Linked DNA regions of Homo sapiens: region 1 is linked to region 2. Evidence: promoter capture Hi-C in 16 types of primary human blood cells and fetal thymus (Javierre and others, 2016). All regions are on one chromosome and are shown on one strand. Each heading gives the region's core, a stretch centred on a gene start or on the middle of the fragment in contact. The rest is flanking DNA. Distances are from core to core; before and after follow the strand shown.

Evidence for each region. Contacts are between HindIII fragments. The CHiCAGO score rates a contact against its expected background, and 5 or more counts as called.
Region 1: a contact is called between a fragment that was not itself captured here and the fragment with the promoter of MED19 in region 2, in 1 of 17 cell types (non-activated CD4 T cells). The highest score is 5.0, in non-activated CD4 T cells.

What each region holds. Positions count from the first base shown.
Region 1 is chr11:58,717,496-58,723,599 of GRCh38, reverse strand. The region is part of intron 2 of GLYAT (glycine-N-acyltransferase); the gene reads left to right. Among named protein-coding and RNA genes, the nearest start is that of GLYAT, 11 kb to the left of the region's middle. The HindIII fragment of the contact is 2,383 bases long and covers 1,068-3,450 here.
Region 2 is chr11:57,708,133-57,714,254 of GRCh38, reverse strand. It overlaps MED19 (mediator complex subunit 19), which reads left to right and starts at 2,040. Exons shown (of 5, transcript NM_001317078.4): 1 at 2,040-2,292. The coding sequence starts at 2,076. It overlaps TMX2 (thioredoxin related transmembrane protein 2), which reads right to left and starts at 1,662. Exons shown (of 8, transcript NM_015959.4): 1 at 1,448-1,662. The coding sequence starts at 1,636. TMX2-CTNND1 (TMX2-CTNND1 readthrough (NMD candidate)) reads right to left here and starts at 1,732. Exons shown (of 21, transcript NR_037646.1): 1 at 1,448-1,732. RefSeq lists a silencer at 2,070-2,409. The HindIII fragment of the contact is 3,048 bases long and covers 677-3,724 here.

The DNA of each region.
Region 1 (6,104 bases), core at 1,010-3,509, 1.0 Mb before region 2:
GTTTTAGAAGACATTCCTATATAGTGCATACATTTCAGGTAAATACATTCAAATTACCCATTCCCTAAATGATTTGTTATTCCCTTCTTTCAGTATAAAGGAGAAAATATTAGCATTCTTTTATTTGTGATTATATAGTTTTATTTTCATTCATCAGAGATGCATTGAGACAACAAGCTTTATTCTTTATTTATTAACAACACAGTATAGCTTCAAGTAAACTAATCCAAATCTAAAGTTACCCACCTTGAAGCTCCTACTAACATTAATCAAAATTACCTAATATTTAAGTGGCTTCACATGACAATCCTTAAGATATAAATAACCTCCCAGAGAGACAGAACATTTTTTTTGGAAGGCATATTAGTTAAGACACTGTATGTATAATTAGTTGAGGTATTTTTATGATTAGTGGCTACTCTTAAAAATTCTCTAGGCTAAACATTTTGTTCAACACTCTGTGATGTAGAATTTTGTGCTTCAAATTTCTCCTTATTCCTTGTGTTAAGTGGATCCTAAACATTTTGAGAAAACTCTAGGTGTTTCCCAAGGATTCCTTCTTGGGACCCCTCTATGGTGAGATAAGGAGGCCCTCATGACTCCTCCCTTTCATGAGGAAATAGCATTCCTCCTCTTTTGTTGTATACTAAAAGACATACATTTTCCCCTAATGGAACTCTAAAATTTTTTATGCCAGTTGCTTTTAATGGAGGTGTCTAACCTAGAATTCACTGTTACTCAACAATTACTTGAGGCCTAGTTAAGAAAATGTCCATCCATTCTTCTGAGTGTTAGATATAAAATGCATAAAGATGTCCACTACAACTGATTCAACTGATAACAGCTGCCTCGCTATGTTCTGTTCACTAGTGTGAAAGGAAAATATCTTGGGCCCCCAAAATCACTAAAGAAAACTCAAGCTGGAAACTGCTTAGGGCAAACTTGCCTCCCATTCTATTTATTCAAAGTTGCTAAGATAGATGCATATCTGATTGCCTCTTTGGAAAGGCTAATCAGAAACTCAAAAGAATGAATTGTTTGTCTCACATATCTGTGACCTGAAAGCTTTCTCCCTGCTTCAAGTCTTCCTGCCATTGCTTCAAAATGTCCCTTCTTCAATATGTCCCACCTTTCCAAACCGAACCAAAGTACTTCTTACATATATTGATCGAGGCCTCATATCTCCCTAAAATATATAAAACCAAGTGTGCCCTGACCACCTTGGGCACATGGCATCAGAACTTCCTGAGGCTGTGTCAGTGGCACATCCTCAACCTTGGCAAAGTGAACTTTCTAAATTAACTGAGACCTGTCTCTGATTTTTGGGGTTTAGATTTTGGTAACCATGGGAGCATTCTGAGTGGAGATGCCCCTGACCTTTGACAAATCTCCTATCGGTGCTTGGTACCAGTATGGCTGACTTTATGGCTCAAACTAATAGGACAATTTGCTGAGGTCTGTGAGCATCCCCTCCAGAGAATCCCTGATCTCCCCAAATTTGGTCAAATTATTAAGTTTATTTATTCCTAATTAGATGGGGAGGAAGGTCTCTTTGAAGAGGAACCTCTACTTTACTTTTTACACAACTAAAGTTAGCATTTAACAACTACCTGGTGTTAATTTCTGCTTACACTTACGGTGCTCAGAAATCATGTAATTTGGGTGATCATTGTTAGTTTTGCTTAACTTTTTTGTTCTTTGTATTTTTCTTGGACAAATTGAAAGGAGAACTCTAAATTATGAGGAACAAGACCTCTGATGTGGGAGGAAAATGGCTAGCAAAAGAGAAAAAAAAAAGATTTTGAATTTTAACTACTAAAGGGGCTTTATTTACATTATAAGGTCACCTTTTTGCCAGCCAGACCAAACTGAAAGAGCAATGGCTGTACTTCTGAAAAAGCAGCATTTGGTCCTAACTGAAATATGGTAATAAGATTTTTTTAAAAAAATTAAGGAGCTCAATTGTTAAAAGTCAGCTTAATTAAAAGGCTAACATCCAAGATGTATGTGTGTATGTGTTCATGTGTGCATGTTTGTATTTGAAGGCCTTCATGTTTTTATTTTTGTTTCTTTTTCTCTCCTAAGACCTTGTCTATTTTCGAGCAAAAGTTTTTTTGTTTTGTTTTGTTTTCCTTCTCAGTTGACTGAATTCTGTTTTCACCTGATTTTTTTTTAACTAAAATAGTTATTGCAACAAAGGCTACGTGGTTATTTAAGAAAAAAATGAAGTTTAATTTTATTTTTAATTTGGCTAAAAGAAAAATAAAAACATCTCCTTCTATCATCACCAGACTTTTTCTCTCTGTACCTTATGTTGTAAATTTTACTATTTGATTTTCACCTGAGTTGTTTCCTTTAATGTGCAAATTTAAGGCTATTTTTCTGACAGCTGCCTAGGGTTTTGAAACAGGTTACCAAGAATCTGAAATTCTAAGATAGAAAAAAAAAGTGGGGTGATCTTTATAAATCTATAAAATGTACTTCCGTTGGCATGCCTAATTCATCTTTATATGTATTTATGTATTGTATACAAAATATTTCACTACTAAAAATATATAAAGTGTTCTAATTAATTGACTTAAAGAAAAAACAAAAGTGCTTAAATGCGATACTAAAAAAGAAAAGACTATTAAAATCCTTTTTCAAGTTTATGTAACTTAAATAAAATCTTTAATAAATAAGCTAGCTTTAAAATTTTTGGTAAAGTAATAGTAGAAATGTCTTAAGAATTACCAGCATACATTTTGTTTGCATTTATTAATCAAGCAAATTTCATACTTATCCCTGCCAAATACTATAAGTTGTCAATGTTTGGCATACAGGTTACATAACTATGAACCCAGCCCCAAACAGGATAATCATTGCTTGTGTAATTTTTAATAAATAATGCATTGATATGGGTTTAATGAAAATAGCTGCATCTTTAATTTAGTAAGATCACCATAACTTCTAATCCTGTGGGTTTAGGCAGTCTGGTCCACAGTCAATAAGGAGGTTTGTTTGGGGAAAAGACTGTTATCCTCTTTGTTTCAAAGCTAAACTATAAACCAAGTTCCTCCCAAAGTTAGTTAGGCCTACGTCCAGGAATGAATGAGGACAGCTTGGACGTTAAAAGCCAGATGGAGTCAGTTAGGTCAAATCCGTTTTCACTGTCTCAGTTATAATCTTGCAATGTCAGTTTTATAACTTTAAATCATGAATATCACAGTTTTCATAAATAATCCAGGTAAACAATTAAAATAATTGGGGTAATGTAATTGGATAAATATTTGTAGGCAAATTGGTCATAATTTAGAGTATGAAATTATATTAAATTAAATAATAGACATTTCATTATTTGGGTATCTTCCCATAAAAATATATTGTAGGAAAATATTCTTGCTAAAAAATAAACAAAACTGTGTGTGTGTTTTTTAAAGAGGTGAACAAGTTTTTTTCCAATTCAAAGCTTATTTAAAGGTTATGTATAAAACAAGGTAAAAGGGACTAGGACTAAAAAAAGATATGAAAAAGCTATTTTTAACAAAGGTTTTTTTAGGTAAAAAAGCTTAAAGAGAAATAATTTTATATAAGACAGAATCTTGTGTGGTAAATTTAATCCTAAACTAAAATAAGTGGTTGTTTAAAAAAGAGGGATGTTCAGGACAAACCAGAAATTCCAAGCATGTCATGAACAGTCGGTGTAAGTCACAATAAGAGGATTTCTATATTTAAAAAGTTTATATGATCAAGTTATCATATTAAGTTTTCATTTGCTTAGAAAAAAACTGAGATAAAATTTTTTAATTAAGATTATTACATCCATGTATCTTCCTGTATATGCTTTTAAAGTCCTTCTAACATTGAATCACAGAGCTTTAACTCCTGCATCTATAAAGCATACCAAGTCCTGCTAAATTTTAAACACTGACAGCAATTAAAGCCTCATCTTCAGGCCCTGTAGAAAATGCCAATCAAAATAAACTGCCTTCCTGAGACACAGGGCAATAAATTAAAGCTACTCAACTCCTCAAGGCCCAGGGACTATCATGGAGGAGTTGGGCATGTAAGAGTGTAATGCCTGATTTTGAAAGATAAAATAAGTTTCATTTCTCCGTAAATTAATCATTAATGTCAAAGGAACACTGATGAAAAACCAGCATATAGACCCCTGTGGCAGATTAACAAGGCTCTCTTGAAGCATTAACCAACTCTTTAATAAAGGTTATAAGAGGCTTAAGGAAGTTACATTTTATAATATAGATTAAATTTTATAGATTGTTTACAAATTTTGAAAAACAAATGTAATTAGCTTCATGCTGTTTTTATTGGGGCTTCTTGTTTAGAAAATTAAATTTCCTTTCTCAAAAAATGAAGGTTTTCACTGTTTTTTGAAGTCTTTGACTTTCACTTTAGTTAAATAAATGACTTTAAAATGACCTATAATCCTATTTTGTAATTTCAAGTGTTTTAAACTTACATTTGACAACTTTCCAAAATTGAACTATAAATTATGTCTTTTTCTGACCTGATTAATTCTTTAAGACAGTAGGTTCCCCTAAGTACAAAAATGACACAATTTGGCTTATTTGGTATAAAAATTATACAGAAGGCATTGCCAAATATGAATTGGTGTTTGGTTTTCTTTGGGCTGTCTTTGTATAAATATGTTATTGGTATGTGTTCCAAAATTATGGGAAACTCCTGTAATTATAATATAATTTAGTATACATTATCAATAATAATCATATTGTGTGCCACAGAGGTAATAAATTTTCTTGTCAATTGTATCTTTTGACAATGGCTGCCTTAAACCTTTTTTTAATCCATGGAAAATTATTGTCTTGTTTTGGTCATCTTTAGAAGGTGGTTTTATAATCAGCTATAAAACTCCAACAGGTGCTCTTAAATGTGGGTTTCTGATACTGTGTGCCACAGAAGTAATAAATTTTCTTGTCAATTGTGTCTTTTGACTATGGCTGCCTTAAACCTTTTTTTCATCCATGGAAAATTGTTGCCTTGTGTTGGTCCTCTTTAGAAGGTGGTTTTATAATCAGCTATAAAACTCCAACAGGTACTCTTAAATGCAGGTTTCTGATAACTTTGGAGATTGTGACATCAGAATAGAGAAAAAACTTTCAGGACTCATAGAGAGATAAAATGTTAATGAGTATCAAGCAAAATAGGAATTAACTACATGGACTGAACCAATCTTTTTCACATTTTACTTAAAATGTTTGCTGATCCTTTGATTTTCAGTCTTAAAACTTTTCTTTTGAGCTATTGACAGCTTTTAACAATTTAGTATACTCCTATGAACAAACTTTGGAGCATGTTTGTTTCTCTCTACCTCACTTCTCCAGAATTTGGAAATTGTGAGTATTCTTAACTTATGGTAATACATTTATTTGCATAAGTGCAATAAGAATCTGTTTTCATTTGTAACAGGAAACAATTGGAGAAACTGGTTATTTTACTAAGGCTTTAACTGCTTTCCTTTAAGAAATCAAACTTGACTTCTGGAGCCAATAAAGCCCTTGAAAAAAATGTCCATATATTTTGTGTACACAGTCCCTGTACAGGATTTCTGACTGTGGTAAATAAAGAATGTCACTTTCTAACAGACACAGAAGCCCCAGATTTAACATGGAACCTCAAGAGGAGAAGAAATTCATCCAACTCATAGGTATTTGATGGCACAAATTCATGGCTAGGTTTTGCTATAAAAAGTCTTATCTGAGACTCCTCCTATGGAACAAAGTTTCATCAAAGCCAATTTAAAAGCCTATTTAAAAAATAATTATTCTTGCTGCACTGTATACAAATAATTAGGCCAAGTATAATAAAGCAAACCAGTCCTACCATAATTTGTTTTTAGTAAAAATGGGAAACTGGAGAGAGAAAAAGACTATATTTCAAGACTATAGTACACCTGTTGTTAGATTCTAGTCTCGCCTAATGTTATTTTTCAATTTTTATTATTTTCTACAATTTGAACTGAATTCTATTTTTCTTGGCTACAAGTCTTCAAAATAATGTTTTAAATTTATTTTTCTTCTTTTTTTTTCATTTTTCCTAATTTGAAATAACTGAAAACTAAGCTGTGCTTTCTTAAAACCCTGAAA
Region 2 (6,122 bases), core at 791-3,290:
GGACTATCCCCCAAAATGAGAGGCTGGTTTAATGGGATCCTTTGCCGCTCAATTACTAGCCCGATTTCTCTCTCCACAGACACCAACTCAGCTTATAGTGAAACTTCTAAGGAAGTTTCAGACAAAGGAAATAAAGAAGACCAGGGACTCACACCCCAAAATATGGCATCCTGTATGCTAATCATTTTAAATTAAAGGTCCCTGGAAACCAGCAGATACTGGAAGCAGCTTTACTCTGATAACTACCTTATCTGCCTAAAGTCCAGACCTGTCAAAGAAGACAACAATTACTTCTGGTCTCTTCCCTGAGTTTTCATTAACTTACTTCAGTACAAGAAGAAAGATGGAAGCCTGTCAACACACCTGGACAGATTTTTGTCAGAAACCATTGTCTGCTCTGCAGGCCCAACAGTCATTGTCCCAGGCCACTGTATGTTCTCCAGGCCACTGAATCACCCTAAAAATCATTTACGATCCACCTTAAAATCACCCACATTTTCCCATCTCCCATATTCCTATGAAAGAGGGTATATAAGCATCTGTACCCCACTGGGTCATTCTCCTGCAATTCCCTCATGCTATGCACGTTAAAATAAAATTTCTATGCCTTTCTCCTATTAATGTGCCCTTTGTCGGTTGATTTTTCAACAAACCCTCAGAGAGCAAAGGGGAAGCTTTTCCTTGGCCCCTACATGCTATATGGCAGAAGGGAAAGTGCTTTAAGTTTATGTTCCGAGCAGTCCCTCCACCCATACCAAGGAAGCACAGCAAGGAGCTTGGGACACTTCCCAAAGAAATCCCAAAGATTTCTTTACAACGTATTTTTTACAATTCCTTTACAGTAGCCCCCAAATTTTATCCACTTTCGCATCTTCAGGATCAAGCAGAGTGCCTAGAGTGTACACTCTAGAAATGTTTATTGAATTAAGAAGCGGCTGACAGTGTTGTGCAGGTAGTGTGGCCAGAAGAGTAGTTTCAAGTCCCAGGCACTCATTAGTTGTATGACCTGGGGCAAGTCACCTAAATATACCGAGATCCATTTCTTCACCAATGAAACAGGAATATTACTACTTGCCTTGTCTACCTTACTGGCTCCTCAGGAGGCTTTACATAATGAGCGGCACTGTAAAACGTTATACACGTGTATGTACAGTTTTGATAGGGCTGTTAATTAGTCTCAATGGTGAAACAGAAAGAAACCTGGACTCAACAGTCAAAAGCTGTTGGGCCGTTGTGCATGGGCTACGACTAACATGTTCCGTTTTCCCATCTTAAACACAAAGTTTAGACTCGATGATGGTTCGGACCCTGCACTTAATAGTCTCTAAGTCCGCTACAGGCTCGGAACCTCAGGTGTCCTCAGAGAGGTAAACCCCAGGGTTCCCAGATACACCTGCAAGGGCAGGGACAGTCAAGGTCGCGGGGTACTAACACGCGGGAGGCTCACCCAGTCAAAGTCACACGGGTTACCGTCTTCGCGTTGGGTGGGCAGACCGTGGCAGAGCGGCGGCAGTTTCCTCACGAGTAGGAAGGCAGCAGAGAGCAGGGCCGACAGAAGGTAGTAAGGTTGGGCGAGCCATCGTGAAAGTCGCGGCACCGAATACACGAGAGCAATTAGAGGTGCCAAGACCGCCATCTTTTCGGCCGTAACGGCCACTGCTCGCCGGCGTCGTAGGTCTCGCCCCGCCTCCCCCACCATAACGACTGCTATTGGGCTATATCGCAAACGTACGGCCTCTAAACCCGGATGTAGTTCTCTGAACGCTGTGGTAGGTCAGAACCCAAAAAAGAACTTAATATTTTATTGGTTAGTCTAGTTGTCGCTTTATCCGCCTAAGTCATTTTATTGGACTGTAGCAAGCAGAGCTAGCAGAAGACTCTAATAAGGTTAAATAGCACTTCCTGAACGTTCTCATAAGGCGACGGAAGTAGTTGTTGAAAAAAGGTAGGCGGTGCCTGAGGCATCCAATGACAAGCGGCTCCTTGAGAAAGGGCGGGGGGGTACTCCTTGAAAGCATTGTCCAATGAAAATTACCAACGGCAGACACGGAGACAGCGCCGGGGCGGAGGGTACGATGGAGAATTTCACGGCACTGTTTGGGGCTCAGGCTGACCCACCACCGCCCCCAACCGCACTCGGCTTCGGACCAGGAAAGCCTCCACCCCCGCCACCGCCTCCTGCGGGCGGGGGACCCGGCACGGCCCCGCCTCCCACCGCGGCCACGGCTCCTCCTGGCGCGGACAAGTCAGGAGCTGGCTGTGGCCCTTTTTACCTCATGAGGGAACTGCCAGGTGAGTACTCGGCCTTGCCAAAGCCAGCCAATCAAATCTTAGAGAGGAGGTGATGGGCGTGGCTCTCAGCCGGCTAGCGGAGGTGCGAGGTAACCTAGGCAACGCATACCCGGACTGTGGAGCCCTAAGTCGGAAGCGCTGTTAGGATTCACAAGCAGAGGGATGACTTGAATTCAACCAGGATGAGTTGAATTCAACCAAAGGGATGAATGGCGGGCAGGGGCGTAGTGCATCTCCGTTACTGTCTTTTGCACCATGTCCAGGCTGTGTCCCTGACACTGGTTTATGTCTCTCTAAAAAATGACCTAGGGCTGGGCGCGGTGGCTCACGCCTGTAATCCCAACACTCTGGGAGGCGGAGGCGGGCGAATCACCTAAGGTCAGGAGTTCGAGACCGGCCTGGCCAACATGATGAAACCCTGTCTCCACAAAAAACACAAAAATTACCTGGGCGTGGTGGCGTATACCTTTAATTCCAGCTACTCGGGAGGCTGAGGCGGGAGAATCGTTTGAACCCCGGGAGGCGGAGGTTGCAGAGAGCCGACATTGCTCCACTGCACTCCAGCCTGGGCGAACGAGACTCCGTCTCAAAACAAACAAAATCCAGGGTTTGAGTTTGGAACTCGAGAGGCCTGATTTAATATCTTTGGGGACCCAAAGTTTTAGTTACAGGTCTCCCACAGACTTGCTATTGGTTTGGGGCAAGTTGCCATTCTTCCTTCTAAGGTTCCGGCATTTCCTGGTCTGATCAAAAAAGGGATAAGAATCGAACCAAACTCTTCATTCAAAAAATTATTTTGTTGAGTACCTATGTACCAAGCACTTTTCTAAATGCTGGAGACAGTTGTGAACAAGACTGACAAGATGCTTGCCTTTTTTGGGATGTACATTTCAGTGGAGGAGGCATTGTAAACAAGATAATGTCAGAAAGTGGTTAATGCTAGGAAAAGAAAACATGATAAAAATTGAAGGTGGCCAGGCGCGTTGCTCACGCCTGTAATCCCAGCGCTTTGGGAGGCCGAGGCAGAATCCCTTGAGCCCAGGAGTTTGAGACCAGCATGGGCAACATGGCGAGACCCAGTCTCTACAAAATATACAAGATTAACCGGGCGTGGTAATGCATGCCTGTAGCCCCAGCTACTCAGGAGGCTAAGGGAGGAGAATCGCTTGAACACAGGAGGTCGAGGCTGCAGTGAACCAAGATTGTGCCACTGCACTCCAGCCTGGGCAACAGATGAGACCCTGTCTCTTAAAAAAAAAAAATTGAGGGGCAGAACTACTTTAGCTAGAGTGGCCAGAGATGCTCTCTTCACATAGCTAACATTTGAACTAAAATGTAAGCATAGACAAAGGGCCAGCCATGTATGGACAGGAGGGAGAGACAATTGTAGATACAAGAAATGAGGTCAGAAACCCTGATGTGAGAAAAAGCTTAGAATATCTGAGGGACAGAAAATCAGTTGGACTCCAGTGAAGTGAACAAAAGGAAAGAGTGTTAGGGAGAGAGATGAAGCTGGGAGAGTTAGGCAGAGGCTTTTATAAAGCAGTAAAGGCATTTAGATTGTAAATACAAAAGGAAGCCATTTAAAAAATTTTTTTATAGACACAAGGTCTCACTGTGTCACCCAGGCTGGACTGCAGTGGTATAATCATAGCTCACTGTAACCTCCAGTTCCTAGGCTCATGCTGTCGTCCCACCTCAGCCTTCCAAGTAGCTAGGACTACAGGCATGCACCACCACAGTTGGCTAACTTAAAATTTTTTTGTAGAGACTGGGTCTTACTGTGTTGCGCAAGCTGGTCTTGAACTCCTGGCCAACAGCAGTCCTCCCGCCTTGGCCTCCCAAAGTGCTAGGATTATAGGTCTGAGCCACTGTGCCCAGCCAAGGAAAGCCATTTTAACATAGGAAGTTGGTCAAATGCACTTGTTTATAATCATTTAAGCAGCCACATGACAAATAGAAAGTGGGGAAATTAGTCAGAAGTTACTGCTCAGTAGTCCAGGAAAGATAATGGTTTGAACCAGAGCATAGCAGGGCATAGAGAAGTAAATGGATACAGGATGTTAGAGGTAGAGCTGACAGGGTTGAAAAATTGAATACAGGGCCAGGCGCTGTGGCTCACGCCAGTAATCCCAGCACTTTGGGAGGCTGAGGTGGGAGGATTGCTTGAGCCCAAAAGTTTGAGACCAGCCTGGGCAACATAATGAGACCCCATCTCTACAAAAAATAAAAATAAATTAGCTAGGGATAGCAGCATGCACCTGTAGTCTCAGCTACCTAGGAAGATGAGGTGGTAGAAATCACTTGAGCCCAGGAAGTTGAGGCTGCAGTGAGCCATGATTGTGCCACTGCACTCCAGCTTGGATGATAGAGGAAGACCCTGTCTCAATTAAAAATATATATTGTATATAGAAGTGAAGGAAATAGAGGAATTGATGCCTTTTTAAGTTTTCGGCTTGAATAATTGGGTGTATGGGTACGGAGACTTGGAAGATGAGGAAGGAACAAGTTTGAAGAGGTGGAAATCAAGAGTTATTTTGGACATGTTTGGTCTCCAAGATGCCTCTTTTTTTTTTTTTTTTAAACAGAGTTTTGCTCTTGTTGCCCAGGCTGGAGTGCAATGGCACAATCTCAGCTCACCACAACCTCCGCCTCCCAGGTTCAAGCGATTCTCCTGCCTCAGCCTCCCGAGTAGTTCGGATTACAGGCATGTGCCACCACACCCAGCTAATTTTTTATTTTTAGTGGAGACAGGGTTTCTCCCTGTTGGTCAGGCAGATCTCAAACTCCCAACCTCAGGTGATCCGCCCACCTTGGCCTCCCAGAGTGCCAGGATTACAGGCGTGAGCCACTGCGCCCAGCCTCCCAGATGCCTTTCATTGTCTCAAGTCTTATTTCCACATCATGACTTGAGGGAAATAGCAACAAATATTGGTATAGTACTTTGAAGTTCACAACACACTTACATGCAGTATTTAATATAAGTAGTATTTAATACTTAGAATAGCCCTTTGAGGTAGCATTACTGTCTACATTTTATAATTGAAAAAACTGAAACATGGAGAAGTTGACATCCCTTTGATTAGTTAGTGGTTGATGTCCACCAGCGGTTTCTTTTAATCTTTCTTTTGCCTTCCCTATTCTGATTGTAGCTATTTGTATCAGTCAGTTGACAGATATTGAATATATGTTCTGGGCAAATGCTGGGTGTATGAGGCGGGTGAGATGGAGAGAGAGATTAGTAATGCTGGTCATTGCTTTTCAAGGAGTTTAGTTAGGAATGTAAAATTTGTGGTTTAAGGATAGTGACTATATTTCCTGTCACCTCCATCTCATTTTGTGCTCATGCCTCACAACAGCAATTAACAATATCTTAGCCATCAATATTAAGAACTACCTAATGGTTTTCAAAGTGTGTTGCTATCCAGAATGACAGTGAGAATAAGATGTCACTTGAGCTAGACCTTGAATAATCCATATTGGTGAAGAAAAATTAGGAAGAATTTTCCTAAGATGAAATAATGTGAGGGGTGTTTTTTTGAGGCGATAAGGAGATCCATTTGGATGGATCAGAAATTTTGCATAGGAGAGTAGTGGTTGATGAGGCCCCAAAGCTAAGTTGGAGTAAGATGTAATTAGCCTTGAGTGCCAGTCAAAGGAATTTGAGCTTTCTCCTGAGGGCAAAAAGAAACCATTAAGATTTGTGAACTGAGGAGTACTGATTTCCAAAAATATCTGGAACATGTGGGTGCCATGGATTGAAATAGAGAAGCCCTGAGTGATGTTGGCAAGATTTGGAATTTCAAAACAATTTTTTTTTTTTTTATCTT